7 separate regions of the Homo sapiens genome follow, and regions 1, 2, 4, 5, 6 and 7 are each linked to region 3. Evidence: promoter capture Hi-C in 16 types of primary human blood cells and fetal thymus (Javierre and others, 2016). All regions are on one chromosome and are shown on one strand. The core of a region is centred on a gene start or on the middle of the fragment in contact, and the rest is flanking DNA. Distances in the headings are between cores, read along the strand shown. Region 1 overlaps CCDC146 (coiled-coil domain containing 146). Region 2 overlaps CCDC146 (coiled-coil domain containing 146). Region 3 holds the start of RSBN1L (round spermatid basic protein 1 like). Region 4 overlaps CCDC146 (coiled-coil domain containing 146). Region 5 overlaps CCDC146 (coiled-coil domain containing 146). Region 6 overlaps GSAP (gamma-secretase activating protein). Region 7 overlaps CCDC146 (coiled-coil domain containing 146).

Region 1 (3,409 bases), core at 901-3,400, 400 kb after region 3:
TCATCCCACCCCAATTACAATAGCTATTACCAAAAAGTTAAAAAATAACAAATGCTGGTAAGGATGCAGAGAAAAGGGAGCTCTTATATACACTGTTGGTGAGAATGTAAACTAGTGCAGTCACTATGAAGAATGATATGGAAGTTCCTCAGAAAACTACAAATAGAACGAACATATGATCCAACAATCTCCCTACTGGAAATTTATCCAGAGGAAAGGAAATCAGAATATTGAAGAGACATCTGCACCCCCATGTTTACTGCAGTGCTATTCACAATAGGCAAGACATGAAATCAGCCTAGGTGTCTGTCCAACAACAGATAAGTGGATAAAGAAAATGGGAGCTACACACACACACACACATATGCACATACATATGCACATACACAACGGAATATTATTTAGCCACAAAAAAGAACAAAATCCTGTCATTTGTGGCAACATGAAAGGAACTGGAGGATGTTATGTTCATTGAAATAAGCCAGGTACAGAAAGTTAAACACCACATGTTCTCACTCATGTGTGGAAGCTAAAAATTGTTCTCACTCATGTGGAAGCTAAAAGTAGAACAGCGGATATAAGAGGCTGGGAAGGTTAAGGGAAAGGATGAGGAAAGGAAGGAATGGGGTAGATTTGTTAATAGACACAAAATTACAGTGAAATAGGTGGAATAAGTCCTATGTCCTATACCACTGTAGGATGACTATAGGTAACAATATACAGTTTCAAATAGCTAGGAGGATATTGAATATTCCCAACACAATGAAATGATAAAGTTTGAATGTATATGCTAATTACCCTGATCTGATCACTATACATTATATGTATTGAAACTTCAGTATGTACCCCATGAGTAGGTACAATTATTATTTGTCAAAAAAATAAAATGAAAAAAATGCAAAAAGCCATGACAAGCTTCACTACTTTATGTAATTTAGATTTACCAAGATTAAGTGCTACTTCTTATTCAACAAAGTGAGTTATGCCTTTGCAATACTTGAGGTATTTTCCTTTTCAAATAGCCATTCTTTCTTTTTAAAGTGTGTATATTGAACAGTATTTGTTTTTTCTTTAATAAACAAAGACCACTGTGTCCATTTCCGTACTTCATTGAGAACAGATTTATTTTTAGTGCATTTTTATAGCACCTTGCCTACTACAAATTTCTGGAATGTACTCAATATAAAGAGTGAAAAAGAAAATATAAGCGATTCAAATATATACTTTGACATAAATGTAGGACAGTTCTATGTCCCATTCAACGTCATGAAAGGTATAGTAGTTGGTGGGTAAATAGAAACCCTGTTGTACTCTGTTGCTGACTAATTGTGGTTACCTTACTTATCAATAATATTAGAAGTATTATGCTCACATTTTTCACCTGTGGGTACAAGGAAGCCTGGTTGAAGTCTTTTCCTTGAGAGGCCTGGATTTGTTCACATATTCAGATTTCAACTGGCTTTATAACAGGTTTCCTTATGTGCCTCATATTGGCTCCAGGTTCACTGGGTTTAAAAGGAGCCAAAGCACCATAAGGTTTTGGCAAAGGAAGAGTGGCATCTGCTTCTGGGATGTAGGCATTCGGACGCTGCTCTGCAGTTGTGTAAACACCATTGGGCAGCTGGCGATTATCTGCTTCCAAGAACTCCTGCAAAGAATGATTTTTCCTTTTCAGTTCTCTGAAAACTCTGGTGAAGTCACTTTATCCTTAGGTCCCAAAAGACACAGCTGGTCTGGACAGTCTTTGACCGTGCTAGCTGATACTCCCCAAAGGGATGGGAGGGGTAGGAGGGTAGAATCACACCACACACACACACACACACACACACACACACACACACACACACCTACCTCTCATTGGCATGGGCTGTATTGCTTCAGCATCACATTATTCCTGGGGTTTAGGGTAGGAGGGTGGAATCACACCACACACACACACCCCCACACCTCATTGGAATGGGCTGTATTGCTTAAGCATCACATTAATCCTGGAGTTTAGTGTTTTTCAAAGACTGCTTTGTGGGTCTTAACTATGTTTCCACCTCAATATCTGTCATCAAGCACTAATTATTTCCCTGTTTTTGACAAAGGCAGAGCAACATATTTCCTTTGGTAAGTCATTGGTGAGCAAAAGTTACAATGGAAGAGGTAGAGGAGTAAAGTGGAACCAGAGGAGGAAAATGGTCACCAGCTTTGCCCTGAGCCTCAACGTTTTCAAGATTTTGTCTGTGCCTCTGGAAAATAGAGTAATCACTTACTGCACTGAAAAGCCCTCTAATAAATGGCAGTGGGACACCACAGGTAAAATCTGAATGCCCTGAAAGGAACAGTCCCAGGTGGTGTGGAAATTATAAATCACGTAATTTACACTTGTGCTCAGGTATTCCTAGTGTGTTCTGAATGCAGTTTTGTCTTGAGTTCAGGAGCAAATAGGGACCCTTTCGGTGATACCCACTTGGCAATCTGAGTGAGTTGTACATCTGGAGGATGTAGACTCCTTGGAAAGAGATGCCTAATTCCAGTCTAAGAATACTGACAGGTCATGGGGGTAGACAGAAGATCTGCTATCTAACTTGCAGGGGGAGTCAGCAATAGACCTAGTCTTAGGCCAGAGGCCTAAGGTGGGAAAAGAAAGGGGTGGCGCTGGGGCCTATGATGTACATCAAGCATCTGCAGAAGGCATGGCACCTAAAATGTGGGTGGAGGCCTCACTGTATGCTGTGGAGGCCACAGGAGATGAACATGGAACAGTCAGATGTGGTCTGAGCAGAGGTGCCAAGACAGAGATTGGAGACTTATGGACAAGGCCAGTGCCAGCCTGGTCATTGCTATGCTGGTGGAAGGCCATGATGTTCAGCCTCAGCAGCCCAGGATGTAAGGCTATGGGGTGGGCCCTGTGCTTGCTAAGTGTTCTTCAGTGAGTATTGTAGCACTCTGGATTACTGCACTTTGACTTATCATAGAATATCTTAAATACACTTCTAACGACTGTTGGGACTGTGTGTGGTAGAGTGGGGAAATTTTTCTTATACTGTGGGATAACTGTGGGTTGCCTGAATGCAACCCCTGCTGGCACCCTTTAGAAATGCAATACAGGAGCCAAAGCCTACCTGAGACTTTTCAGCGATGGCCAAGGCGTGCATTTCTTCATCTCGAAGGACTTTCAACCATTCTTTCTCAATTTCCTTATTGAGTGGCAGACCTTTTTCTATCCTGGAATTGCAAGTGAAGATGAAGTCTTCTTTCTCCCTGACTTCCTTTTGGAGTTCAATGGTTAGGGCTTGTTTCATGGACAGCTCAGCAACAAGAGCCATCATTTTCTCAGTTGCATTTTTGATCCTTCTTTGATAGCCATTCATCTAGAATTAAAGAGCCCAAAGCTTAGTCTATGTATACAGTCCACAAAGAC
Region 2 (3,529 bases), core at 354-2,853, 470 kb after region 3:
ATTAGAAATCAATTTTCTGTGTAAAAGAGATACAATTGTAAAATCAAATTAGTGAAAACACTACAAAGTTAAAATTGAATTGCAAATACAAGTATGAACTAACTCATGCTTAAAATTTTTTTCCCTAGCTTTGTCCATTAAATAGCCTAGACCGCACACCTACAACTATCTGATCTTTGACAAACCTGACAAAAACAAGCAATGGGGAAAAGACTCCCTATTCAGTAAATGGTGCTGGAGTAACCGGATAGCCATATGCAGAAGATTGAAACTGGACCCTTTCCTTACACCGTACATAAAAATTAACTCAAGATGGATTAAAGACTTAAATGTAAAACCTAAAATTATAATAACCCTGGAAGACAGCCTAGGCAATACCATTCAGGACATAGACACAGGCAAAGATTTACTGATGAGGACACCAAAAGCAACTGCAACAAAAACAAAAATTGGCAAACGGGATCTAATTAAACTAAAGAGTTTCTGCACAGCAAAAGAAACTATCAACAGATTAAATGACCTACAGGATGGGAAAAATTTTTGCAAACTATGCATCCGACAAAGGTCTAATATCCAGCATCTATAAGGAATGTAAATTTACAAGAAAAAGCCAAATAACCCTACTAAAAAGTGAGCAAAGGAAATGAACACTTTTCAAAAGAAGACATACATGTGGCCAATGCCAACAATTTTATGGAAAAAAGCTCAACATCACTGACCATTAGAGAAATGCAAATCAAAACCACAATGAGACACCATCTCACACCAGTCAGAATGGCTACTGTTAGTTGGGGGAGGGAGAGCATTAGGAAAAATAGCTAATGCATGCTGGGCTTAATACCTAGGTGATGGGCTGATTGACAGGTGCAGCAAACCACCATGGCACACATTTACCTATGTAATAAACCTGCACATCCTGCATATGTACCCCAGAACTAAAGATAACAATTTTTAAAAAGTCAAAAAATAACAGATGTTGCTGAGGTTGTGGAGAAAAAGGAATGCTTATACACTGTTGGTGGGAGTGTAAGTATTTCAGCCATTGTAGAAGACAGTGGTGATTCCTCAAAGATCTAAAGACAGAAATACCATTTGATCCAGCAATCCCATTAATGGGTATATACCCAAAGGAATATAAATTATTCTATTATAAAGACACATCCATGTGTATGTTCATTGCAGCACTATTCACAATAGCAAAGACATGGAATCAACCTAAATGTCCATCAGTGATAGACTGGATGAAGAAAATGGGGTACACATACACCATGGAACACTATGCAGCCATAAAAAAGAATGAGATCATGTCCTTTGCAGGGTCATGGATGGAGCTGGAGGCCATTATCCTTAGCAAACTAACACAGGGGCAGAGAACCAAATACCACATGTTCTCACTTATAAGTGGGAGCTAAATGATGAAAACACATGGACACATAGAGGGAAACAACACACACTGGGGCCTGTCAGAGGGTGGAAGGGAGGAGAAGGGAGAGGATCAGGAAAAACTACTAATAGGTACTAGGCTTAATACCTGGGTGATGAAATAATCTGTACAACAAACCTCCATGATACAAGTTTACCTACGTAACAAACCTGCACTTGTATCACTAAACTTAAAGGTTAAAAAATATATAATGGTCTAGAAATAATGCCACATTAACAACAATGAGCACTCCTAATACATTTTGGTCTTTAATCTTATTTCCCACTAAAAGGAAGCAGCAAGTGTTAGAAATGGTTGATTTCAGGTCTGGTACAGGGAAGACACAAAGTGAAGCTGAGACATCTTGTTAAGCCAGAAAGCAAGAACTGTCCGTAGAAGATGATCTTATTTTACATATGAGTATGTGAATATATAGAGATCCAGAAGGATAAGAACTAAGATGTTAAAATGATGTGCTCTGGGTAGTAAGAATGTGCTGCTTTTATGTTTTTATTTTTGCTTGCCTGTGTTTTCTAATTTTTCCAATATGTATTACTTTTAATAACAAAAGGCTATTAAAAATGTGCTTGCAGACTATCACTGTAAACAAGAGGGAATTAGAGCAGAATTTAGAGAGAATTAGAATTTAGAGAGTACTGTGATCAGGTCCTAGTGGCAGATATAGGCAGATTCTAGCTCTGACTTACTGAATGCTCAACTGTATTTCCCCTAAGTTGAGTCCCATCTTTAACAGCAATGGTGGCCAGGCGCCGTGGCTCACGCCTGTAATGCCAGCACTTTGGGAGGCTGAGGCAGGCGGATCACGAGGTCAGGAGATCGAGACCATGCTGGCTAACACGGTGAAACCCCGTCTCTATTAAAAATACAAAAAATTAGCCGGGCGTGGTGGCAGGCACCTGTAGTCCCAGCTACTCGGGAGGCTGAGGCAGGAGAATGGCATGAACCCAGGAAGTGGAGCTTGCAGTGAGCCGAGATTGCACCACTGCACTCCAGCCTAGGCGACAGAGCAAGACTCCGTCTCAGAAAACAAACAAAAAAACAGCAATGGTTTGAAGCCTAATTGTAGGTGGGCCAAGGATACATGTTGGCTAGTTTTATGGCCACAGAAAAGCAGGAAAACTACAGAGGTTTCCTTTCCTGTTTTCTGTCTCTATCATTCTGCTGGCCTTTGGTGCCTTACAAACCTGCAAAGAAAGCTGACAGGGTAAAACACCTGAATATGTTCTTGCAGTTTCTACATAAATTGGAAAAGGTAAAGTCATAGATGTTCAGAATGTTAGTTGATAAACTTTGTTATTTCAGTCTCCTCTAAAAAAACAAATCTCTCTTAAAAAAACTAAACTGTGGAGAATAGATTTTAGCTGCCTTAAACATAAAAAATCATAATCTAGACGTCAACATTCATCAAAAAGTGACTTTTCTGTGAAATTATAAACTGTCTCTTTAAGCAGGTCGATCCCTGGTTAGAAACTTCACACTAAGTTCTAGCAGATAAAAATGCTTCACTCATAAACAATATCATACATGGAAAATGGTTGCATTTTCACATTGCATGATACAAGTGGGTGCAGAACTCAAGTTTGTCATGTTTCAAAAATGCAGAATCTAAGAAATATAGCACAAAGTTCAATCTTAAATTGTCAAAGAGCATACACAATGAAAGGTTAGATATAATGTCATAAGTTCATAAATATGATTTCACAATAGATTCTGTGTTATTGAATTGCCCTGCTGGCAATTATGTGACTGGAAGGAAACATTTACTCTAGAGATAAAGTTTAAAAAGAGTTCATGATTCATGGATGACATGTAACAATATGGAAAAAATTTCAAAAATGGAAATTCTAGGACATTTCAAGGAAGTAATAGCTCAGTAAGAGCTTTCACCAAGTGAGTTTATCTGGAAGGGGGTCAGCATGAGGAAAGAATTAGGTGTTTGCGTGGGTGTGTGCAGGGAACCTGGATTTGTCCAAGGTGGTCACAGCTATTTGCCTACCCTGTTCTTGTGACTTCTTTGACATTACCTAGTGGGTTGGCTTCATTCTGGGGAATGGCTGGCATGCTTTGGAAGGTAATATAAATGTG
Region 3 (3,810 bases), core at 635-3,134:
CACCTGGAATTCCTGACTAAAAGTACCAAAATCCCATCCTCAAAACCACTTTCCTAGAAACAACACTCCCAGAAGCTGAAAGATATTTACATTGCACCAGAGTCCCTGATGGCTATGCTTAGATGTTAAAGCTTTGCTACAGGCAAAAAATATCAAGGAAGAAGTGACACTATTGCTACATGCACATGCAGCATGTTTTAAGTTGTGAAAACAAACCATTATAATCCAAACAGAATTTTTCATGATCTGAGCTACTGTTAGATCAGCAATGCTGAAACTGCTTGACATTTCTTTTTCTAAAAAACAAAAAGAGTTATTTGACAACACTGTGTAGCAGTGCACATTTATAATAAAGATTATGCGCTTTAAGCTTGCGATCACATAAAGATTTGATTTTCAACTAGTCCGTATGTTGCACTATTGTCAGATCATTGTGTATCCGTAGCTGAAGTGGTGGAAACACCTGAAAAATTATACGACTAGCCTACATTTAAAAACAAAACTGACCCTGTCTGACAAGAACCCTTAAGAATTCGCCTTTTTCTAATGCTCAAACATTCTGCAGCCGCTTGATCTGGCGAAAAATCGTCAAAGCTCCTGGTTTTATCATTTGCTGCAGGGAAAAAAAGAATATGGCTGAAAATTCTTTCAGAAGGGTGGTATTTCAAACAGGACCACCCAAAACACTTAAGAATACGCAGCGGAGAGTAGGGTGCAGGGAGGGTACCTTACGAAACAGCGCACTTCGGGCCCTGCACGCTACCTCATTTCCCTAATAGGGATGAAAAGCTCAGGCCTCTGGTAGCTTCCAGCTGACGCCAGTGCTCTCTCCACACCCCTTTTTTGACAGGATTATCCGGGGTTGAACGCTGTGTCACAAATACGAATTCCCGCGACCACGTCTAAGTGGTCTAACAATCAATCAAGCATCTTTTACAAAACCAAACCCTTCCCCCATCCCGTTCCCTCCATCTCTCTCCCTAGCCAAACAAACCTAGGAGAGTCCTCAAGATGGATTTTCACAAATCCTGCAGCGCACTAACTGGGAGGAAGAAACGATACAGAAAATAAGAGTGTCGGCCATCCCCCTCTCTGCAACCGAAATTACAGGCTCCATTTCCTGTCCCCTTGGGAACTGCAAAATCCTCTGCTGAAAACCGGACGCCTCCCAGCCCCTCCAGGCCGGCGCACGCGGCCGCCGCGCTCCCCCTTCCCGGGCCCCGTGGGCGCCAGGGGGCGGCGGGGACCCACGGCGCCCTCCCCTCCCCCTCCCCGCACGGCACCCACCTCGGGGCAGCGGCTTCACCTCCCCGTTCTCCTCCCGGGAGGCCCCGCCGGCCTCTCGGGCCCCACCGAGACCGTGCCTCCTCCTCTCCTTCTCCCGCTTCTCCTTAGGTCTGCGCGACTTGGCGTTAGCCGAGGCAGCGGCGGCGGCGGCGGGCAGGAGGAGATGGTGAGGCTGAGCGTGCAGCAGCGTAGGAGGGACCAGCAGTTTGCGCGGCACCGGCTGAGACAAGGAAGCGGAGGCTGAGGAGGGAACGGCCGTGCCAGCGGAGAAAGAGAAACTGCTCCGAGAAGAGGACGGGGAGGGAGCAGCAGACAGAGGGGCAAAGCTCCAAGACGCGGGGCTGCCATAGCTCTGAGGCGAAGGTGCTGCCGGCGGCTGCAGCTGCCTGCTGTTCCCGCCGCTGCCCCCTTCTCCGTTCACTCTCCGCGGTGCCTTCTTCTCCTCAGTCCGGACCTTCTTGGCGGACAGAGAACCCGGAGGGTCCCGGGAGGAGAGTTGCAGCTTGCCAAACGGTTCTTTCTCCGAGACGGTGGCGGTGGGGGCCGCGGCAGCGACACAGTGCACGGGGCTCGGCGGTTCCGCCATTTTGCGCTCCTGTTGTATTTACTCTCCTCCGCTAGCCGGCGCGGGGCAGGGGGCGGGCCCTCCGCGAGGGGTAGGGAAGGGGCGGAGCGGCCAGGCCACCAGCCGGCATTGCTCCATTGGGCAAGCCACGCTGAGGGATCCACCTAAGAGCCAATCAAAGGCACAAACATCAGACGAAGGGGCGGGATCGCCACAGGGACCCTCTTCGGAGGTCAGAGCTCGGCGGGGTGCGGCTAGTGGCGGAGCGCGCTGCGAGGGGAGGGCTTTCCACTGTCGCTGGCGTGAACTCGCGTGCCCGGTGGGTATCAGGGAAGAACCCCCGCCCCGGACCCCCAGATCTGCCATGGCCGAGGTAGCGATCGTCTCTGCGGCCACGAAGACTGTTTTAACTTGTACCACTTTCCCTTCCATTTTTCCTGGGGTGCCTCTCACCCTGCATCTGCGCGTTCAGCAAGCTGGATTTCGGGAATGCTCAGTTCAGAAGAGAAAAAATTGCCGGGAATCAAGTCCTTCTTTTTGTTAGTCGGTAGTCGATTGATGGGAAGTGTTCAAAATCATTCGATGTGGTGACAAGGTACGTTATTATTGCTAGATCATGTGCTGTAATCCATTGAAGGAGATAACTTCCAGCAAATCTAGAACTTTAGTATTACTTACAAGCTTGAAGGTGAGAGTCTCCCTTTGGAGACTTTTGAACTGTTGTGACTAGACCCTTAAGATTTTTATTTTATTTATTTATTTATTTATTGGGACGGAGTTTTGCTCTGTTGTCGAGGCTGGAGTGCCGTGGCGCGATCTCGGCTCACCGCAACCTCCGCCTCCCAGATTCAAGCGATTCTCCTGCCTCAGCCTCCCCAGTAACAGGGACTACAGGCGTCCGGCACCATGCTTGGCTAATTTTTGTGTTTATTAGAGACGGGGTTTCACCATGTTGGCCAGGCTGGACTCGAACTCCTGATCTCAGGTGAGCGGCCCACCTCCGCTTCCCAAAGTGCTGGGATTACAGGCGTGAGCCACCATGTGCGGCCTTAAGATTTGAATTTTATAATAATTATTATAGCCGGGCGCGGTGGCTCACACCTGTAATCCCAGCACTTTGGGAGACCGGGGCGGGCGGATCACGAGGTCAGAAGTTCGAGACCAGCCTGACCAACATGGTGAAACCCCGTCTCTACTAAAAATGCAAAAATTAGCTGGGCATGGAAGCGCGCACCTGTAATCCCAGCTACTGGGGAGGCTGGGGCAGGAGAATCGCTTGAACCCAGGAGGCGGAGGTTGCAGTGAGCCGAGACTGCGCCACTGCACTCCAGCTTGGGCGACAGGGCAAGACTCCGTCTCAAAAAATAATAATAATAATAATAATATTATTATTATTATAACGTAGACTTGCCAGGAAAAATTCGTTGGCGATTATTTATGGATGTTTGAAAAGCAAGAATTGTTTTTTTAGGTTTCTGTATTTTAGCGTTTAGTAAGCACACTGCGTGTTCGATGTTTTGTAAGCATGTGCTTTGATTTTTGCTTCGAAAATAAGCAATTTGGGGAGATGGGTTTTAGCTTAAAAGATAAGGAATGTGGCCGGGCGCGGTGGCTCATACCTGTAATCCCAGCACTTTGGGAGGCCAAGGCGGGCAGATCACAATGTCAGGAGTTCGAGACCAGCCTGGCCAACATAGTGAAACCCTGCCTCTACTAAAAATACATAATTAGCTGGGCGTAGTGGCATGCGCCTGTAGTCCCAGCTACTCTGGAGGCTGAGGCAGAAGAATCCCTTGAATCTGTAAGGCAGAGGTTGCAGTAAGCTGAGTTCGTGCCATTGCACTCCACCCGGGGCGACAGTGCCTATTTACTCATTTTTTTAAGAATATTTTTAAGAATTTTTTTTTTTTCGGCCAAGAGTGGTGGGTGGCTCACGCATGTAATCCCAAGACTTTAGG
Region 4 (3,908 bases), core at 307-2,806, 450 kb after region 3:
TACATGGATATATTGCAGTGTGGTGACGTCAGGGCTTTTGGTACAACCATCACTCAAATTATATACATGTATACCCATTAAGTCATTTCTCATCCTTCACCCTCCTTCTGTCCTCCCACCCTTCTAAGTCTCCAGTATCTACTAGTCCACACTCTACGTCCACGTGTACACATTACTTAGCTCCCACTTATGAGAACATGTGGTATTTGGCTTTCTGTTTGTGAGTTTTTTTCACTTAAGATAACGGCCTTCAGTTCCATCCATATTACTGCAAAATACATGATTTCATTTTATGACTGAATAGTATTCCATTGTATATATATGTCACATTTTCTTTATCCAATCTCTTGACAGACACTTAGGTTGATGCCTTATCTTTGCTATTGTGAATAGTGTTGCAATAAACATATGAGCGCAGGTATCTTTTGGATATGATTTCTTTTTCTTGGGTATATAGCCAATAGTAGGATTGCCAGATGGATTAGTAGTTCTATTTTTAGTTCTTTGAGAAATATCCATGCTGTTTTCCATAGAGCTTGTACCAATCACATTCCTAGCAACAATGTATAAGTGTTCCCTTTACTCAGCACTCCGCCAACATCTTATTTTTTATCTTTTTAATAATAGCTATTCTGACTGGTATAAAATGATATATCATTGTGGTTTTAATTTGCATTTCTCTGATTAGTGATGAACTTTTTTCATTTGATTCTTAGCCATTTGTCTGCTTTTGAAAAATGTCTATTTATGTCCTTTGCCTACTTTTTAATGGGATTATGTTATTTTTGACATTTTATTTGCAATAATGTAGATGAATTTTGTAATACATGTGTCACATTGAATTTAATATAGATTAGTTGTCTAGACCACAAATTGAAGCTGAGTTTAGATCTTTAAATAGTTATGCCTTTGCTTTTAGAGCTTGCATATACATTAGTGGTATTTTACTTCCCAGGTATTGATCCTACACCTCGGGCATGCTGCCACCAGGGGGTAGTAGTGTGCTACTATCTTTCGGTTGTAAAGGCAACCTGAGTATTTCTGAGTTTCAAAATGGTGACAGCAAGCTCTTTCACAAGATGTGACTTATGGTCTTTCCTTTAAGTATATTTTTATGTTTAAACAAACATAAAATGACTAATTCTTTAGGACATTTAAAACTTACATTTCTATGATACATTTTTCTTTTTTTATTAGGAAATACTGACTTATTTCCTCTAAAAGGAATGTATTTTTCTATTTTTAAAGATTATAATCCTACTCCATCACACATGGTTGATCATTTTTATTTTCCCTGTTATCTTTTAATAAACTTATTTTAAATGTATATGTGTGGTTGAATCCATTTTTACCTAACATTTAATTAAAATATTTTCCTAAGTTGCTAAACAGACTTTATAATAATAGCTATTTACAAGGTTTTCTACTGGGTAGATATACCATAATAAAATAATCTTAAGTATTATTTATCATATACTGAACATACTGTGTGCCAGGTGCTTTAAATTTATCATATCTAAAATTCACAACCTTGCTAAGTAGGAATTGTGATTTTTGTTGTACAAATGAAGAAACTGAGGAGTTAAGCAACTTTTCCAAAGTCACACAGTCAAAGCTAAACTGACACACAAATACCGCTCTGACTACAGAGGTTCAGTAACAAGGTATTTCTGGAATGCATTATTTAAATATTCCACATTTTTTGAGAATTCAGATTGCTTCCAATTTTTCACTTTCATAAATATCAATATCTTTATGCATTATATCTTTTTCTCTCCTTTTGGGTTATCACTTTTGCATGGGATTACTGGGGCAAAAACATGTTTCTGTTTCTATGCCTCCTGGTATGTATTAACTCCTAACCTTTCAAACTTGCATTAAAACTTAAATCTGACATTTTTCAGCTTTCCTGACTAAGGGGTGCTTCAACATCAAAGCTCCTTAGGATTTACTTCCTTTCTAAAGCAACGTCAAAAGGCTTTTGGTTTTAAGGATCTATGGGTGAAGAGATAATGCAGGAAGCCCGATATGCTGACATGTGTGAGAGGCATCATTCACCACAGAAGTAGAAACAGCATGGATGGGTGAAAGTTGCAAGAAGGTAGGTTTATAAACAAATCCAACAACCATTTAAGTGTAGGAGCATTTCCAAAGTTGGCGTGAGCCTCTGTGGGAGGCTGAGAGCTTCCTGTCACTGGAAGTGTTTATGCATAGACTGAATGATCACTGAGAGGAGACTCTGGTGACTGACCAGTCAGGGCTGAGAACCACCTTTGGAACCCACGGTCCTCTAACTATAATGTGAGTCAGAGTCACATAAGCAAATGTCACTTTGGGTGGGGGCGGTGGGCTGGGGCAAAAATCATAATCATTACTTTTTGGATGGGATCTTCCTTTCAAACAAGTGTCTCAGGTGCTTCTTTTTGAGTAATGAGAAACACATTCAGAGAAACCTGTTCTAACTAAGTTAGTTCTTTTAAGATATTTGTTGCCACAGAAGAGCAAACTTTTTTTTTTTTTTAAGTTAAGGTAAAATCTGTTCTAGCTATGAGTTTTTCCTTGTGACTACTCCTGAGTACCTACATGCCTCTTCTGTCACATTCTAATTTTCTGGAATTCCAGATGTGTTGCTAAGATCATTCCTCCTTTCCTTTGTTACCAGATCTGTTGTTTCTTGGTTCCAACTTTGCTATCAGCACTGGACCAAGAATGGAAAACAACTAATAAACCCTGAATGTGCAACAAGGACCACAGGAACCAGCCACGGGAGAGTAGACAGTCACCAAGGTCAGGGTCACGTCAGGACAGCCCTGCACGTGTGCGGCCTGAGTGTTCCCACTCTCCGGGTTCACAGTGCAACAGACAGTGCCAGCTCACCACAGCCTTGTTTCCCCCAACTGACCAAGACTGGTCAGAATGTGTCAGATTTTGCATGAAAGACGCAACGTATTTGCTGTAAAATTTTAGGAATTACTAGAAAACAGGGAAGCCCCAAAAGGTAACACAATCAAGGCAAGGCAAAGGTTGAAGAGAGTACTGAAAAATCTTTTCAAACTGTTTAGAGAGGTAAGTACTCCTGTTTTGTTTCAAAAAGTAAGCTCAACTGTATTTAATTACTTTATTATGGATTTACAATGTATTAATTTAACTTTAAATAGATTACATATTATTTCCTGAACTGCATACTTATCAAGTCATAAATATTAATCCAGAAACAGAAACTACTGCAACATAGATTTAATTACTAACCAACCAACCAACCAGATAATTAGATTTATTAACATTAAAAGATTTATGTTATGTGAACATACACAAAAAAATTGACAAAATTACACAGTAAAATCCTTTCTCTAGAGTATTTGAAAAATAAGTTGTTCTTAGTAGTTGCCAATGATTCAGAAGTTCCTGAAGATATTGGGGTGGAGGAGTGCTAGTTATTTGGGCTTCTATTATCTAGAAACTCAATAAGAGTTTGTTGTGCTGGTCTGACAAATATCATCTGTATATGTGGATGAATAGTTTTCTCTCATTAGCTTCATCTCTTTATTTTTATGTGGGGATGGAAATATCTACTTTTTCCAGGGGAAGGAGGTCAGTGGGAGGGTGTGGAGGGAATTGGTTTCTGTGTCATGTGCAGTCATGTGCTGCTTAACAATGGGAATATATTCTGAGAGACGCGTCGTTAGGCAACTTCATCATTGTGTGAACATCACGGAGTGCACTTACACAAACCTATGTGGTGTAGCCTACTACACATCTAGGCTATGTGGTAAAGCCTACTGCACCTAGGCTATAGACCTGCATAGCAGGTTACCGGACTGAGTACTGTAGGCAATTGTAACACAATAAGTGTTTGTGTATCTAAACAAAGAATACACACAGTAAAAATATGGCATAAAAGATAAAAA
Region 5 (3,731 bases), core at 363-2,862, 500 kb after region 3:
TGTAACACAGAAATTCCATTTTGGAATCATTTCATGTTACCAATAATTCTAGACTTTTATAACATTTAACATGTTGATGGAAATAGATTACATCTGCTAGAACCTTTTGCCTTAACTATTCACCAATATATGCTAATATTCATAAATATGGATTGACTGTTTACAAACATTAGAATCTTGTCTTGGTTCCATTTTGATGGCTAATATTTGTTATCTTAATTAAGACTATTTCTGAGGTCATGATTACTTGAAAATATTGACTAAAACTGGGTCCTTAGAAATTCCAGGTGGAGCTGATTTACCTATGACTGAGGGGAAAAAAAAATCAAATTTTACTGATAATAGTAATGCTCCAAATGAATTAATGACACATCTGTTCAATAAATAAAGAGCTTAAATATACAAAACATAAGAAATCTGGGCAACAAAACTTGTGGTCTTTACTTTTGAATAGCTACCCAAGAAAAGGTTTTAAAGGTAAAAGTTATGAGTAATGTCATCACAATAAGCTCTTGTTTAAAATTCTTTTCTTTTATGTATAATTAGGTTTATGTTTCATGTCTTTTTAAAACCTTATAAAAGATTTAATTATCACATCTATTCTTCAATGTGGAAATATTAAATATTGTTGGTTGTAAAATAATATTTATGTACTTACTTGTGTCTGAAAAGTTGTAAAATGCTTACCTCAGCTATACAATATCTGTGACTCTGAAGACTTTAATGAGTACTATTTCATTAACAAGAAGTCAGAGGCAAATAGAGGAACACCATTATCTTACTTCCCTCTAGAATACTGTTGAAACATTTGAAATACAAAAGTTTCAGTTTCATTTTGTGGCATTCAACTTCCTCTCCTCTTTTTCCGTTATTAGTGTTGCTGCTCTGGTTAGCCCTCTTCATCTCCTTAGGACAACACAAACGCATCTGAATAGTCTGTACCTCTGGTTTCAGTCTATTCCAGTCCAACTTTCATCCCTACCAGGGGGATTGTTCAAAAGTACAATTCTGATCATGTTATTGTCCTGCTTAAAAAACTTTCAACAACGCCTTCTTTTCTTTTTTTTTATTATTTTATTTTATTTTTTTTAGAGACGGAGTCTCACTCTGTCGCCCAGGCTGGAGTGCAATGGCGAGATCTCGGCTCACTGCAACCTCTGCCTCCTGGGTTCACGCCATTCTCCTCTCTCAGCCTCCTGAGTAGCTGGGACTACAGACGCCTGCCACCTCGCCCAGCTAATTTTTGTATTTTTAGTAGAGACGGGGTTTCACCATGTTAGCCAGGATGGTCTCGATCTCCTGACCTCGTGATCCACCCGCCTAGGCCTCGCAAAGTGCTGGGATTACAGGCATTAGCCACCGTGCCCGGCCAACAATGCCTTATTTTCTACAAGATAAAATCTGGCAAATAAGTCCCTTCATGAAATGATTTTTACCACTACTTATACTTCTGCCATACTAAACGCCTTGTTGTACACAAACAAACTACGCTTTCTAATGTTTTCATTGCCTTTAGTATACTGTTTCCTTGGTCTAGATAGAATGCCATCCTCTTTCCTCACTGGGTTTTGTCTTATCACCCATGATTAACAGCAGGAACTCAGGAGCTGGCCTTCCTGGTTTGAATTTCAGCTCCACTATTTGCAAGCTGTATGATCCTGGGCAAGTCACTTAATGTTCTTTGGTTCCTTCAATTATAAAATAGGAATAGTAATAGAATCTGCCTGATAGAGTTATTGAGAGGATTAAATCACATATATAAAGCACCTAGAACATATATATTTAAAAATCATCATTCCCAGCTGGGTGTTGGTGGCACATGCCTGTAATCCCAGCACTTTGGGAGGCCGAGGTGGGCGGATCACGTGAGACCAGCCTGGCCAACATGGTGAAACCCCATCTCTACTAAAAATACAAAAATTAGCCAGGTGTGGTGGCTCACACCTGTAGTCCCAGCTACTCAGGAAGCTGAGGCAGGAGAATTGCTTGAACCTGGCAGACAGAGGTTGCAGTGAGCAGAGATGGCGCCACTGCACTCCAGCCTGGGTGACAGAGAAAAAAAATCATCATCATCCTAAGTAGTTATTATTATTTTTTATTTTTTGAGATGGAGTCTTGCTCTGTCGCCCAGGCTGGAGTGCAGTAGCACCATCTCGGCTCACTGCACGCTCCGCCTCCTGGGTTCACACCATTCTCCTGCCTCAGCCTCCCAAGTAGCTAGGACTACAGGTGCCCGCCACCACACCCAGCTAATTTGTTTTGTATTTTTAGTAGAGACTGGGTTTCACCGTGTTAGCCAGGATGGTCTCGATCTCCTGACCTCGTGATCCGCCCACCTTGGCCTCCCAAAGTGCTGGGATTACAGGCGTGAGCCACTGCGCCAGGCCCTAAATAGTTATCTCTTATAGGCAGAGTTCTCTGATGACAGTAGGTGGGGTCCTGGCACCTCTCCTAGATCTTATGCCATCCTACATATTCCTTATTATATATTATTCAATATTGTCTAAGTTCTATCCTGAAATCAATCTGTGTGAATAGGAGTAAAGGAAATTTGAGACATGAGTATTGTTATTCAAAGTGATTAATAATATGTTGCCACAGAGAAAGAGTTGTACTCTAAAGAGGCCACAGTTATGATTGGGAAAGTAGTGGGTAGGGTCAAATCTGCGGATATGAGAGACTGTGAACATAGGTGAGAAGCAATTACAGCCAGGGAGAATATGGCAAGACAGGATCAAATACAGTAAGTCCTCACTTAACGCTGTTGATAGGTTCTCAGAAACAGCGACGTTAAAACAACATACCATGTAACAAAACCAATTTTACCATAAGCTAATTGACATAAACAAGAATGAAGTTCCTATGGCATACAATATGCTGTTTTTGCTTAAAGTTGCTGTTTCCAAGAACCTATCCATGATGTTAAGTGAGGACTTACTGTATACTATAGGACTGGGAATGTAACAGTGGCAAACTTTTAGAAGGGGTCCTAGGAACATGCCTGTGGGGACATGTCACACAGAGGCATATTGCTGTACCTGCCCAATAGTGATTGTTCCACCCTACTGAATTCCTGAAGAAAAAAGCAGGAATAATTTTGAAATTAATTTTAATATAAAATCCATGAATCCTTTAATTTTTTAAAAAGTTACAGATTAAAATAAAGACTCCTTCACAAATCACCTTCAATTTCAATCCTGTCCCTCTCCCCAGAGGTAACAAGCCGAGGTGGCCAATTCCCAACTTTAATTTCATTCTGTGCATTGCCAGATCACAATGTCTACTAAGTCATAAGCTTGCCAGGTCTCCTTTGTTGATTGACTGGAAAGAGGTGGAAATGAGAGGAAATGGGTATACTTTGAAAACATGGAGTGTCCCGAATTCCCAAACATGAGTGGGCCCCCCCTTGCTTTTTGAAGTAGTCCCTCCCCTGACATTGATGAGGATGTCCTCTTGCTGGAGGGCACTGTTGCTTTCTTTCCTGGGGGAACACTCCAAATTCTTCCTTAGGCTCCTTCATCCCACTCATCAGCATCTCCAGATTCATCATCAGGGCATGCCCCAGTATCAGTTCTAAAGTCTAATGGAAAGAGAAGGCTTTGCACAACTTTGCTAACTTATATCAGCAGAAGGCTGGAGAAGACATGTAGAGAGAGACTGAGGTTGCCTGATTAAGGAAGAAACAATTTTAGATGTGACTGAATTTACTGGTATAGGTATATTTACCAGAA
Region 6 (3,503 bases), core at 515-3,014, 380 kb after region 3:
TGGATCATGTGTGTGTGTGCATGTGCATGCTTGTATGAATTCAGGGTGTTTCTATATGCACATGCGTAAGTGTGCTTGCTTTCCAGGCCTATTGGACTAATGATGACTGTTTGAGTTACGATTGTCAGAGACTTGTAACATGAATTGGTTAAAGTTAAGAAGAGAATGGGGAACACAAAAAGGAAGTCAGGGTTTAGAGCTAGGGCATTTGCTTTTAAAAAAAGGAACTGTATTGCACTTGCTGGCTAGAGGAGGCCAGGAGCCCTGGAAGATGAGGATTAAAGTTGGGTGGAGCTGATGACTAATTATAGCCAATTTGCTCTGTTGCTCAGAGCTGATGTATAGAGGCCAAGAACAGGTCCCTGAACTTGGGACTGTGCCCTGGGGATAGAGGATGAAGGGTCATCAGGGACCTTTAGCATATGAACACAGGGCTGGAGAGGGAAATTTGAATCCAGAAAATCAATATCATCAATAATCTAGTGTAAACTTTTCTTCAGAAATAATTTTGTAACTTTTTACTAATAGTTTTGTGAAGAATTTCCAAATCCATTTGAAAAACGTTGTTGTTAATTAACTAGTAAAATAGTGGAGTTTTTTTGGACTCAGGGAAGCTAGTGGACTCATCCTGTTAGCCCATTAACACATGCTTGTGGGCAGAGCCTGTACTTCATCTGACCCTTGATGTTACAAGGACTTAGGACTGTGCCCCATGGCTTGTGATTCATGTGTTTAGAGAGAGAAAATCCCATGATTTCTCTGAATCCAAGCCCTGCTCGTTGGGCATCATCCTTTTGTCAGGTACCTTCCCAAGAGTAGGCTATGATTCTTCTGTCAGTCATTCCCACATTCAATGAGTTGCAAAGCCTGTACATGTTACCATGCCTCTCTGATTCAGTGCCTCCATTACCTCTTATCCACGTTCAGGCAATAGCTTCTCTACAGGTCTTCATACCTTCTGTAGCAAATTATTACTCCAACTCATTCTTTGCCTGTTGCCATATTAATATCCCAATGGTAAATCTTCTGTTCTGCTTAAAAACTTTCATTACCTCCTCAAAGTCTCTCAAATTAATAAATCTCTATCATTCAGCATTCAACCTCTGTCACCTGCACTCATAAGCACAGAACTGGTCACATTTTTAAAAATGTCTATTTTTTGTAATTGATTGTCTGCCTCCCCCAGCAGACTGCAAGGTGTATGGGAGCAGCAGTTGTGCCTGTTTTGCTCATTTTTATACTCTTAGCCCCTTGCCAGGTGTGTGGAAGGGATGTGCTGAATAAATTAGCTTTTCCAACCTTACCTCTTAATCTTTCTCTCCTCTAATATGATTCCAACCCAGCTGGATCATTTACTATTTTCTGAATATGCCCTGTGCTTTCTCATCTTCGGACCTCTGTTCATGTTCTATTAACACAGCTGCCAGTTATTAACAGTGACATTATGGTTGAAAGCCTACCCTACAATCACACAGTTGATGCAAATTTCAACTTACACATTATTATTTCTGTGATCCTGGGCAAGTTGCCTAGCTCCTGTGAATCTTGGCTTTTGGTTTTTCCATTTATGAAATGGGAATCTAGTAATTCCCACCCCATACTTTTGTATGAGGATCAGATGAGCCAGGACACAGGTTGAAAGCCTTGGTACATGTCCAGTATGGGTCGCTATTGTTATATTGCATGCTAGGCTCTTCACAGACCTGGCTCTAGTTCTCAAAGCAGCCCTGTGGGAAAGGTACTGGTGGTTCCAATTTAGAGATGAAGAAATGGAGGCTCAGAAAGGCTTAGTTGCCTGCAGCTGGTGAGTAATACAGCTGGATTCTGGCCTAGGGCTGCTCATGCCAAACCTGGCTTTTTCTACTGTCCGCACTCATTTCCACTGATAGGAATTGCATCTGTCCTTTGAAGCTCCCCGCAAATGCCATCACTTCCAAGAGAGCTGTTTTGATTCTCTCCTGGTCTGATACCTTCTCCCATGCATGATGTTTTTATCTGTTGTCAGTAGTAGTATACTTAGAGATCTGGGTTTCTGTGGGTAGCTCTACCCGTGAGACAGGCTTGAGAATGCCTGCCTCTCAATTGAATTCCTATAAATTTACTATCTGGCCATATTGTCTTAATTCTTTCTTTTCTATACTTTAGTCCAAGTAGACTCTAAAAGCCTTTCTCTAGGGCATACCCAGAGATAAGCCATATAAACTATTGCCTTCTGGTCCAAATTTGTTTCCCTTCAGCAAAATGGTCCTCATCCCAACAACCTTTTAGTCTGGACATACGAAATCTGAAATGCTTCTGTACTCTTTTGCTATCTTACTGTAGAATCACAAACATATCAAACCGTAAAACCATTGAGCAGGCCCTTGCTCTGTTTCTGTGCAGGAAGAGACCCAAGGAGCAAGGAATGTATACTTACCGGAAACTTACTATAGACCCAGCGTGATATTTAGTTACGAATAATACAGAGAAGGAAACTTGGACCTTGTTTTCAAGAAATTCAGTTGGTTCCAGGCACCAAGCACTGAACTAAGTGCTTTATTAACATGATCTAATCCATTCCCCGGGGGCTGCTGGAGATGTTGGCTGACTGTGTTTACCCTCCAGATCTCTCATCCTAGGTTTTCATACTCTGCACACCATCCTCGGGGTCCAGTGTCTCCCTTTGCATAACCTGCTGCATTGCATTGACAGTGGAGTGTTGCTTCTCACTGAAACAGCTGTCATAAGGCTCATGAAAGGTAAGAAGCCCTGAGTTTGCCAGAGTGCTAGTTCCAGCCTGAGCACCACCAAGGCTAGCTTCTTGGGTGTGCAACCTGTGCAGTCACCAAGAGCCTGGCTGCACTCAGAAGAGTGCCCTGCTCAGTTTAATGCTGCATTACATCTTGAAATTCTTAGTAGTATTTGAACGAGGGCTTGCTCGTGTTCATTTTGTGCTGAGCCCCACAAATTATACAGCTGGTCCTGTGAGCACAATCCATTCCCTGTAATCATCTTTTGGGCCAATTTAAGGTTTCTGAGCCCTTCACGAGGTCCTAAGGGACTTTTCAATCCACATACAACTATTAGATTCCTTTTCTGTGCAAGAGGGCACTTGAGGCTAGGAACCTCTGCAGGCTTGTTTCTCAAGAAAATGTCACGAAATGGCTTATTTTCAGCTGATTAACTCTGTCATCTCAAAGTTAGACTAGAAATGCAAGGAAAATTATTGAGAGGGGCAATTAAATGAATTTGAACTTTAAATTCTGTAGTATAATCACTCAAATTATTCAATTGTATTTTAAGATGATTTTTGTTTATATGAAAGCATTTGTCATTCCTCAAGGTACCTTCTGTTTTAAGTTAGTCAATAAAATTGCTTTGTACCTGGCAGCCTGTTATAGAAAAATCCCTTTTTATTCAGAGAGTCAGAGTAAAATTTCCAAAATGCTGTTAGATTAGCTTGAGAATACACAGTTGGGATATGTCCTATCAAGATGAACCACTCAAGTATTAATATTAACTTG
Region 7 (3,770 bases), core at 1-2,500, 480 kb after region 3:
TGTAGGCTAGAATCTGCTAATGACACTTACAGGCTTAGCCAATAACCATGAATAATTTACTCTTTTCTTTTTTGTTTATTTATTTATTATTTGTTTATTTATTTGAGACATATCACTGTGAATGGGATTTTTTTCTTCAATTTTTTTTTTTTTTTTTTTTTGAGACGGAGTCTTGCTCTGTCACCCAGGCTGGAGTGCAGTGGCGTGATCTCGGCTCACTGCATGCTCCGCCTCCTGGGTTCATGCCATTCTCTTGCCTCAGCCTCTGAAGTAGCTGGGACTACAGGTGCACGCCACCACACTCGGCTGTTTTTTTGTATTTTTAGTAGAGACAGGGTTTCACCATGTTAGCCGGGATGGTCTCGATCTCCTGACCTCGTGATCCGCCCACCTCGGCCTCCTAAAGTGCTGGGATTACAGGCATGAGCCACCATGCCCAGCCTTCAATATGTTTTTGAACTTGTTATTCTTATTAAATAGGAAAGCTTATTCTTATTATAATAGGAAAGCTATATATTTTTCTTCAATATGTATTGAACTTATTATTAAATAGGAAACCTATGTATTTGTATATTTATTTTGAAAATAGTCACCTTACTGTACTATAATATTATTTTGTATTTTTTATGTAGGCATTTATGTCAGCTACAGATAATGGTCATTTGTTCTTTCCCATATGTATGCATCATTTTCTGTCTAAGTGCATTGCATATAATTCATTTTTTGAAAGTGAATTATATGCAATGATCATGCTCATATCAGGCACCCTTTCCTTATTTCTGATTTTAATGGGAACACTCCTGGAGTTTCACAATTAAGCATGACATTGGCTATTTGTTTGAAGTTAGTGTTTAAAAGAGTAAATAGGCTGGATGCGGCAGCTTACACCTGTAATCTCAGCACTTTGAGAGGCTGGGGTGGGCCGATCACTTGAGGTCAGGAGTTCAAGACCAGACTGGCCAACATGGTGAAACCCCATCTCTACTAAAGATAAAAAAATTAGCCAGGCATGGAAAAGCACGCCTGTAATCCCAGCTACTCAGGAGGCTGAGGCAGGAGAATCATTTGAATCCAGGAGGTGGAGGTTACAGTGAGCTGAGATCACGCCACTGCACTCCAGCCTGGGTGACAGAGTGAGACTCTGTCTCAAAATAAATAAATAAATAAATAAAAATAAAAAAAATAAAATAGAAGCAGCACAAACCCTGTAACAAAGCAATTCCATTTCTTGGTGAATAACCCTTCAAGGTGCATGTACAAGTATATGGAGAGACATGTACAAGAATGCTCAAGTAGCATTATATCTAATAGTTGAAAACTGGAAACAATCCTAATGTCAATTGGAAATACAACAGATAGAGGACTAAACATACAATAGAAAAATACATGCAATAATATCAATGGTTCTTACAAATATAACATTGAGTTAAATAATCCAGACACAAAAAATACATTTTGTATGATTCTATTTACATCAAGTTTAAAAAACAGGCACAGCAAAAGGAAGGTGTTTAGAGATTCATGCTTAGGTGGTAAAACTATGAAGAACCACAAGAAAAAAATGATAATAAAAGTTAGGATAGTCGCTATGTTAGAGGGGGTGAAGGGGGATAAGAGGAATTACTGAGAGCTAATGTTTTATTTTTTGACCTGGGTGGTGGTTACTTGGGTATTTGGTCTGAATTATACATTTATAGATACCCTAATGTATATCTAATATACTTCACAATTTTAAAAGATTAAAAACTATTACAAGATTGATATAGTTTGGCATTGTGTCCCTGACCAAATCTCATGCTGAATTGTAATCCCCACTGTTGGGAGAGGGACCTGGTGGGAGCTGGTTGCATTAGGGGTCAGATATCCCCCTTGCTGTTCTCATGATAGTGAGTTCTCATGAGATCTGGTTGTTTGGAAGTGTGTAGCACCTCCCCTTTCACACTCTCTCCCTCCTGCCCCAGCCATATAGGACATGCTGGCTTCCCCTTTGCCTTCTGTCATAATTGTAAGCTTCCTGAGGCCTCCCTACCCATGTTTCCTGTACAGCCTGTGGAACTATGAGCCAATTAAATCTCTTTTCTTTATAAATTACCCAGTCTCAGGTAGTTCTTCATAGCAATGTGAGAATGGACTAATACAGAAAATTGGTACCAGAGAAGTGGGGCATTTCTATAAAGTTAAGTAAAAATGTGGAAGCAGCTTTGGAACTGGGTAATGGGCAGAGGTTGGAACAGTTTGGAGGGTTTAGAAGAAGATAGGAAGATGAGGAAAAGTTTGGAACTTCCTATAGACTTGTTGAATGGTTGTGATCAAAATGCTGATAGTGATATGGACAGTGAAATCCAGGCTGCAGAGATCTCAGATAGAGATGAAGAACTTATTGGGAACTGAAATAAAGGTCACTCTTGCTATGGTTTAGCAAAGAGACTGGTGGCATTGTGCCCCTGCTCTAGGGATCTGTGGAATTTTGAACTTGAGAGAGATGATTTAGGGTATCTGGTGGAAGAAACTTCTAAGCAGCAAAACATGTAAGATGTTCCCTGGCTGCTTCTAACAGCATACACTCATATGTGTACACAAAGAGATTATCTGAAATTGGAACTTATATTTAAAAGGGAAGAAGAGCATAAAGGTTTAGAAAATTTGCAGGCTGACTATGTGGTAGAAAAGAAAAATCCAGTTTGTGGGGAGAAATTAAAGCCAGCTGTGAGAATTTGCATAAGAGGAGCTGAATGTTAACAGTCAGGACAATGAAGAAAATGTCTCCAAGGGCATTTTACAGATCTTCACGGCAGCCCCTCTCATCACAGGCCTGGAGGCCTAGGAGGGAAAAATGGTTTTGTGGGCCAGGCCTAGGGCCCCACTGCTCTGTGCAGCCTTGAGACATGGCACCCTGTGTCCCAGCTGCTCCAGCTCCAGCCATGGCTAAAAGGGGTCAAGGTACAGAATGGGCTGTTGTTTCAGAGGGTACAAGCCCCAAGCCTTGATGGCTTCCATGTGGTGTTGAGCCTGTGGGTGTGCAGAGGGCAAGAGTTGAGGTTTTGGAGCCTCTGCCTAGCTTTCAAGGGATGTACGGAAATGCCCGGATGTCCAGGCAGAAGTCTGATGCCAGGGTGGAGCCCTCATGGAGAACCTCTACTATGGCAGTTCAGGGCAAAAATGTAGGGTTGGAACCTCCACACAGAGTCCCCACTGGAGCACTGCCTAGTGGAGCTGTGAGAAGAGGGCCATCGTCCTCCAGGCCCCAGAATGATAGATCCACCAACAGCTTGCACCGTGCACCTGGAAACGCCACAGGCAATCAATGCCAGCCCATGAAAGCAGGTGCAGGGGCTGTACTCTGCAGAGCCACAGGGGTGGAGCTGCCCAAGGCCTTGAGAGCCCACCCCTGTGTCAGCGTAGCTTGGATGTGAGACATGAAGTCAAAGGAGATTCTTTTGGAGCTTTAAAATGTAATGACTGCCCTGCTGGGTTTTGGATTTGCATGGGGCCTGTACCTACTTTGTTTTGGCTGATTTCTGCTTCTTGGAATGGGTGTATTTACTCAACGCCTGTGCTCCCATGTATCTTGGAAGTAACTAGCTTGTTCTTTATTTCACAGGCTCATAGGTGGAAGGAACTTGCCTTGTCTCAGATGGGTCTTTGAATTTGGACTTTTGAGTTAATGTTGGAATGAGTTAAGGACTTTGGGGAACTGTTGGGATGGCAGAATTGTGTTTTGAAATGTGAGAAAGACATGAGATTTGGGAGGGGCCGGAGGTGAAATGATG

What was found. Contacts are between HindIII fragments. The CHiCAGO score rates a contact against its expected background, and 5 or more counts as called.
Region 1: a contact is called between a fragment that was not itself captured here and the fragment with the promoter of RSBN1L in region 3, in 2 of 17 cell types (non-activated CD4 T cells and monocytes). The highest score is 6.3, in non-activated CD4 T cells.
Region 2: a fragment that was not itself captured here is called in contact with the fragment with the promoter of RSBN1L in region 3 in 2 of 17 cell types (monocytes and neutrophils); the score reaches 7.5 in monocytes.
Region 4: a contact is called between a fragment that was not itself captured here and the fragment with the promoter of RSBN1L in region 3, in 5 of 17 cell types (neutrophils, non-activated CD4 T cells, activated CD4 T cells and 2 more). The highest score is 7.3, in neutrophils.
Region 5: a fragment that was not itself captured here is called in contact with the fragment with the promoter of RSBN1L in region 3 in 10 of 17 cell types (monocytes, non-activated CD4 T cells, neutrophils and 7 more); the score reaches 12.6 in monocytes.
Region 6: a fragment that was not itself captured here is called in contact with the fragment with the promoter of RSBN1L in region 3 in 2 of 17 cell types (monocytes and total B cells); the score reaches 6.5 in monocytes.
Region 7: a contact is called between a fragment that was not itself captured here and the fragment with the promoter of RSBN1L in region 3, in 1 of 17 cell types (neutrophils). The highest score is 6.3, in neutrophils.

The regions. Positions count from the first base shown.
Region 1 is chr7:77,292,902-77,296,310 of GRCh38, reverse strand. It overlaps CCDC146 (coiled-coil domain containing 146), which reads right to left. Exons shown (of 19, transcript NM_020879.3): 18 at 3,111-3,359; 19 at 1,107-1,648. The coding sequence ends at 1,445. Among named protein-coding and RNA genes, the nearest start is that of CCDC146-AS1, 46 kb to the right of the region's middle. The HindIII fragment of the contact is 2,465 bases long and covers 918-3,382 here.
Region 2 is chr7:77,226,260-77,229,788 of GRCh38, reverse strand. All of the region lies in intron 2 of CCDC146 (coiled-coil domain containing 146), which reads right to left. All of the region lies in intron 1 of CCDC146-AS1 (CCDC146 antisense RNA 1), which reads left to right. Among named protein-coding and RNA genes, the nearest start is that of CCDC146-AS1, 21 kb to the left of the region's middle. The HindIII fragment of the contact is 4,152 bases long and covers 1-3,529 here.
Region 3 is chr7:77,694,533-77,698,342 of GRCh38, reverse strand. It overlaps RSBN1L (round spermatid basic protein 1 like), which reads right to left and starts at 1,884. Exons shown (of 8, transcript NM_198467.3): 1 at 1,288-1,884. The coding sequence starts at 1,873. APTR (Alu-mediated CDKN1A/p21 transcriptional regulator) reads left to right here and starts at 2,078. Exons shown (of 2, transcript NR_134254.1): 1 at 2,078-2,447. RefSeq lists silencers at 664-763, 1,054-1,373, 1,844-2,063 and enhancers at 1,584-1,813, 998-1,893, 1,894-2,789. The HindIII fragment of the contact is 2,163 bases long and covers 373-2,535 here.
Region 4 is chr7:77,244,484-77,248,391 of GRCh38, reverse strand. All of the region lies in intron 4 of CCDC146 (coiled-coil domain containing 146), which reads right to left. CCDC146-AS1 (CCDC146 antisense RNA 1) reads left to right here. Exons shown (of 2, transcript XR_007060387.1): 1 at 1-3,066. Among named protein-coding and RNA genes, the nearest start is that of CCDC146-AS1, 2.3 kb to the left of the region's middle. RefSeq lists a silencer at 1,037-1,086. The HindIII fragment of the contact is 6,811 bases long and covers 1-3,908 here.
Region 5 is chr7:77,190,283-77,194,013 of GRCh38, reverse strand. The region is part of intron 2 of CCDC146 (coiled-coil domain containing 146); the gene reads right to left. It overlaps FGL2 (fibrinogen like 2), which reads left to right. Exons shown (of 2, transcript NM_006682.3): 2 at 1-645. Among named protein-coding and RNA genes, the nearest start is that of FGL2, 7.7 kb to the left of the region's middle. The HindIII fragment of the contact is 3,370 bases long and covers 1-3,297 here.
Region 6 is chr7:77,313,605-77,317,107 of GRCh38, reverse strand. GSAP (gamma-secretase activating protein) reads left to right here. Exons shown (of 31, transcript NM_017439.4): 27 at 2,619-2,738. Among named protein-coding and RNA genes, the nearest start is that of CCDC146-AS1, 67 kb to the right of the region's middle. RefSeq lists an enhancer at 515-1,016. The HindIII fragment of the contact is 3,785 bases long and covers 1-3,503 here.
Region 7 is chr7:77,209,012-77,212,781 of GRCh38, reverse strand. All of the region lies in intron 2 of CCDC146 (coiled-coil domain containing 146), which reads right to left. Among named protein-coding and RNA genes, the nearest start is that of FGL2, 11 kb to the right of the region's middle. The HindIII fragment of the contact is 1,525 bases long and covers 488-2,012 here.